Linked DNA regions of Homo sapiens: region 2 is linked to region 1. The links are contacts of gene promoters, found by promoter capture Hi-C in blood cells and fetal thymus (Javierre and others, 2016). All regions are on one chromosome and are shown on one strand. The core of a region is centred on a gene start or on the middle of the fragment in contact, and the rest is flanking DNA. Distances in the headings are between cores, read along the strand shown. Region 1 holds the start of CTDSP2-AS1 (CTDSP2 antisense RNA 1). Region 2 holds the start of OS9 (OS9 endoplasmic reticulum lectin).

What was found. Contacts are between HindIII fragments. The CHiCAGO score rates a contact against its expected background, and 5 or more counts as called.
Region 2: the fragment with the promoter of OS9 here is called in contact with the fragment with the promoter of CTDSP2-AS1 in region 1 in 2 of 17 cell types (neutrophils and non-activated CD4 T cells); the score reaches 9.4 in neutrophils.

What each region holds. Positions count from the first base shown.
Region 1 is chr12:57,835,714-57,838,438 of GRCh38, reverse strand. CTDSP2-AS1 (CTDSP2 antisense RNA 1) reads right to left here and starts at 1,348. Exons shown (of 2, transcript NR_188077.1): 1 at 1,225-1,348. The region is part of intron 1 of CTDSP2 (CTD small phosphatase 2); the gene reads left to right. RefSeq lists enhancers at 9-88, 149-258, 1-459, 1,049-1,118. The HindIII fragment of the contact is 9,495 bases long and covers 1-2,725 here.
Region 2 is chr12:57,692,765-57,695,489 of GRCh38, reverse strand. OS9 (OS9 endoplasmic reticulum lectin) reads right to left here and starts at 1,358. Exons shown (of 15, transcript NM_006812.4): 1 at 1,167-1,358; 2 at 564-740. The coding sequence starts at 1,328. RefSeq lists enhancers at 1,118-1,167, 1,155-1,729. The HindIII fragment of the contact is 11,057 bases long and covers 1-2,725 here.

The sequences.
Region 1 (2,725 bases), core at 99-2,598:
TTAGGGGGAAGGAGGGGTAACTCCAGGTAGGCAAGTGTGGTTTCCAATCCCTCACAATGATACCTTTGCTCTGGCTGGTGCTACATAGGGCAGGGTCTCCTGCTGAGGCAGGGGCAGGATCCAGTCCTTTGAGTTTTCTTGGATGGCATCTCAGGCTTGTCCCTGCTGCCCTGTGGGCTATTAGATCACTTCCTGACATCCCTCAAGAGTCCTCTGGAGTGGGGCTTGCAGGGCTGAGCCTGCAGCTGACTTGTCTATGAGGAAACGCCTCCTCTGTCTCTGGTCCAGGATCTGCTACTTATGGAGGCCCACCCCAACCCAGCACGTTTTTAAAGTACGTTGGAGCTGCCCAGGAGGGTGTTTTGGCAATACCTCCTTTAGAGGCTGATTCTGAAATCAGCGTGCTTTAGAACTGCCAGAAATCCCCTGCTCCCAAAACTGAGTCCTCTTACCTCTCTAGCTGAGGTCAGAGAACAGATTGCTGAAGGGGCAGAGACAAGAAAGTGTGTGACCTGTGACCCTCGCCCCACAGGTGGCATTAAGGACTCAGGTCTGAAAGAAGAGACAGCCATATAGGGAGCTCTCCTGCCCAGGGAAAGGGAACTAATGGAGACACTGGCTTAGGTAGAGCTGCCCCAGTTGCTGGTGCAGAGAGGGCACCAGCATACAACATGCTGGTATGGGCCAAACAGCATGGCTAAAACTGCTTTTTAATTTTTTAAATTTTATTTATTTATTTATTTATTTTGAGACAGAGTTTTGCTCTGTCCCCCAGGCTGGAGTGCAATGGTGTGATCTCGGCTCACTGCAACCTCCACCTCTTGGATTCAAGTGATTCTCGTGCCTCAGCCTCCGGAGTAGCTGGGATTACAGGAGCTCACTACCATACCCTGCTAATTTTTGCATTTTTAGTAAAGATGGGGTTTCACCATATTGGTCATGCTGGTCTCGAACTTCTGACCTTAAGTGATCCCCACTGCCTTTGCCCCCCAAAGTGTTAAAACTGCTTTTTTCAAAAAATGCCCATGCAGTTAGATACACAGCTACTTTTTGGAACTTCGGGAGCCGGTGCTAAGCTGGGTCCGGCCCTGCCTTGCTTGTTAGCTGTAGAGAACAGTGTCAGTGGCCAGGCATGAAAGCAGTACACCCTCCCCATTGTTTGCAGTCTTTTGTGTGTGGGGGCTGTCTAGGCATCTCACCCTCTTTTGTTCCCTGCCGACTCACCTGCTGGTCCCAGGAGCTCTTCCGTCCACCTGGCACTTTAGGGCATGTCCATAGCCAAGGAACAGATGCCCCTTGCAGAGGACCTGGGAGGACTTCTCTCCATGGGGGAGTCCCAGTCAAATGTGTCTTGGCTGCAGGGTTCAGGCAGCCGTCCAAGAAGGGCCGGAAATGCTCCAAATACTCTCCTTCCTCCAATAGCTGAGAGGAAGGAGGCCCCTCAGAGGGGCCATTTTATAGTGATAGCCAGGCTAAGGCTAAGTCCTTTGCTGTGGGGGATGGGAGGTGGTGGGGAAGGAAGTACTTCTGGGGATGAACCAAAAAAGAAAGCAACTTTCTACCTGAATGGGCTTGTTAAAATCTGATTGTCTCAGAGGTTACCTTCTGCTGAATCGCAGGCAGATGTGTGAGGAGTTCCTTTGCTGGGACACAAAGCTGTGTTGTTGACAAAAGTGGTATCTGGACCTGACTTTCAGGAGAAGATTAAAAACAGTGTTGCCCTGGTCACTCTGGTCTTCGTTTGTGTGTATGTGTGCACGTGTTCACGTGTTTGTACATGTACACTTTTTTTTTTTAAAGACAAAATCTCACTCTGTCACCCAGGCTGGAGTGCAGTGGTGCAATCACGGCTTACCGCAGCCTCAAACTCCTGGGCTCCGGTGATTCTCCCACTTCAGCCTGCCAAGCTGGGACTGCAGGTGCACCTGGCTAATTTTTTTTTGGTAGAACAGGATTTTGCCATGTTGCTCAGGCTGGTCTTGAACTCCTGAGCTGCAGTGATCCAACCGGCCCAGCTTCCCAAAGTGCTGGGATTACAGGCTTGAGCCACCTACCCCGGCCCATGCATAGGGGCAAATAGTGTCCTTACCTGGTACTTCTTGAGAGTAGTGGGGATGAATACCAGGGGAGACAGCGATTTTTGTCTCAAGTGAAACAGTCTTACTTGCTTTTGTTTTTCACAGAATACCCAGTCAGGGAGTTTGTGAGCTGGAAAACAAATTTTGTTGTGGACTTGGGAGAAGGTATAGGGGCTATTTTGACTTTCTGAAACCTGCTCATGATCAGAGCTCTCAGGCACCTTTCCCTCATCTTCTTGGGCTTCATCCACGTGATGATGGTGGGAGGGCTCCTGGTCTGTTGCTGGCCTCCTGGAATGAGGCCCATGATGTTGCCATTTAGTGGTCATCTCCCCTTGGATAATTAATTAAAACAAGCGCAGCATTTAGCTTTAGAGTTAGCACAGTGCCTTACTCTCTAACTTCGTTTATCCTTTCAGTCCTGAGTGAGGGCTTGCTGTTATCCCAGTTTATGGATGAGGAAACTAAGGCTCCAAAAGGCTGTGTGGCTGAGTCAGTAACTGGCAGAGCCTGGACCCCAGCCCTGATGATCCTCAGTGGGGGCATACTCCTCACATCCCCTCTTCTCCTCACACCCCGCCTCAGTAGGAAGACTCGCAGCAGTGAGCTGGATGGCTGGCCTGGTTTCCCTGTCTTCAGCCACCAGC
Region 2 (2,725 bases), core at 109-2,608, 140 kb after region 1:
TGGTATCCCTGAAGCAATTATATTAGGGAAACATAGAAGAACCCAAAATTAAATATTAATTGAACTTCTTGAACATTCCTGGCACTGTTCTGGCCACTGGGAATACAACTGTGAACAAGATTAATTCTTTGACCTCATGGAGTTTACACTCTAATGCGGGGAATCAGACCGAAAATAAACAAACTGATTCAGTAAATATGATTTCAGATCATGAAAAGTGCTACGATGAAAATAAAACAGGATACTGGAGCAGAGTGATAGGGCAGGGGGTGACTTTAGCAAGTAGGCTTAAGGAAGTACTCCTCCTACCCCACGCAGACCCTCAATCTTGCTTTAGCCCTTTTCTGAGATCTTCTATCCTAACCTGCTCCTACGTTCAGCAAAGTGTCATCAGTGGTTGCAGGATTCTTTGCTTCTTTCCTGTCCGTGTAATCTGTCTACTCCTCCAGTGGTCTTCTTAACCACTACAGGTCCCCTAGATCCTGCCTCATTCAGTGGACTCCAGTTCTTGGATGAACTGCTAGTTTCCAAGCCCTCATTCTATCTAACCCAGTCCCTTTCACCTTCAGCAAGCAGGGAGCATCTCTCATTGGGCTCAACAACTCAGGGATCCCAGGCCCTTGGTAAGCAGGTGTTTCCTCCTCCCTTTCACGCTGGAAGTGAATAGCTCCAGCTGGCAGGCGACACTCATAGCGCTGTTTGTACTTAGAGGAGACAATCACCACGTCCGAAGATTGGCTCTGGGAAAGAAGGGAGGGTCGGGGGGCAAGGAAGCAAAGAAAGGCTGGGATCAGGGAGAACAACGAAATCCCTCTTCAAACCCTGGGGAAGAGATCAGTCGAAGACAGAATAAGCCATAAGCCCTCCAGCTGTATTTAGTGGGTGAGAGGAGAGGGCGCTCCCATTTCTCCACGGGGGCGGAGTCCGGGTGTTTCGATCATAAACTGAGACCTGAAGGTTGACAGCGGGAAGCCCCACCTCTCCCAATTCCTGGCCCCCAGAGAATTGGTCTCAGTCTGCGACCCCCAGGGGTCACCGTAAAAGCAATACCTACTCTTCCCGATTCCCCGTAGGCTCCAGCCCCAGACTCCGGAGCTGCCCTTCTTCCTCTATCTCTTACCCGCTTCCTCTTCTGCCCAGACCCTCGCCCCTTATACGCCTCTCACCTGCCCTCCCATGACAGGCAACGGCAGGATCTCGATCCCATAACGCATCTCACTCAGCTCCTCCAGGTTCAGGCTCCCGACACCGCCGGTCAGACTTGCGGGTAACAGGAGTCCCAGAAGCAGCAGTCCTAACAAACTGGACAGCAGCGTTTCCGCCGCCATCTTTCGTTCCCCTTCTTATGCAGAGAATCTGTTTCCGCCCTAAGCCAGGCAGCGGCCTCAACACGCCCATCGGCGCCACATGATTTTATTGGCTGTACGTTCTATCCCTCCCACGTACCCTATTCCTATTTGTAAACGTGGCTCCAAGGTCCTGGGGAGGTGGATCACGACGATTAGAAATATCAATCGCTGTCCGTGATTGGTCAGAGACCAGCCAATCATCGACAAGATCAAACCCCTCCTCGTTCCCCAATTTCAGAGGCGTGGTCTATGCGCTTGGTCCTTTTAAGTTTGCCCTCTGTCTTCGCCCAGCTGTCATGCGCATCTCATTGCTTTTTCAGACGTCTCTTGCATTATATCCTGCCCACCGCCGGGCGGAGTATTGAGGCAGATAGGTAGCGTGCGCAGTGCCGGTGAAAGTTATTAAATGCTTGTTGCAAAACAAACAATTATTATACGGACGCTTACCTCTTTTCATATATACATATTGCTTTGAGGCAATCAGAAAATTTGTGTCAAAACCTTCCTATACGATCCTGCAGTTGACCTCCAGTAAAATGACCTCCAGTAAAAATCCTAGAGAAATAATGCGGGCAGCCAGACGTGGTGGCACGCACCTGTGGTATCAGCTACTCCGGAGGCTGAGGCAGGAGGATCTCCTGAGCCCAGGAGTTCAAGTGCAGCCTGCGCAACACAGCGAAACCCCGTCTCAAATAAGTACGTACATACATACATACATACATACATACATACATACATACATACATGCATACATGGGCTTCCAGTTAAGGTGAAATTATGTATTACTCTCCAGGCCGTAAGAAAGGGAAAGGAGACAACAACAGCAACATTTTGGAAGCTGGAAATCAAACAGAAGAATGTTAACTGGTTTAGCAAACTTGAGAATATTTATTACGAAACAAAGGTAAACAAGAGGCTGATTATACCTTTGGAAAACCCTCTCTGGGGAATCTCACCAGCCAAAACGAAAAATCCCAAAGATACCCTTATCAGAGTTCTCTTAATGATATAGATAACTAGAATGAATTCCACATGTAACACTTTGGCCTACGTGCCCCAGCCCTCATTCCACTTTCCAATCAGCTTTTTAGTGTTCTTACTCTTCAAAATAAATAGCCAGAGATCATTAGACATTTAAGGAAGGACTTTAATATACAAGTAAGAAACAAACAAGAAGGGAAAAGCAAATGAGAGGAAACATAAATTGCAAGGGAGGGGAAAAAACACTAAAAATAAAAAATTTAAAAATAGGCCGGGCACGGTGGCTTACGCCTGTAATCCCAAAACTGTGGGAGTCCGAGACGGGCGGATCACTTGAGGTCAGGAGCTCAAGACCAGCCTGGCTAACGTGGTGAAACCCCGTATCTACTAAAAAT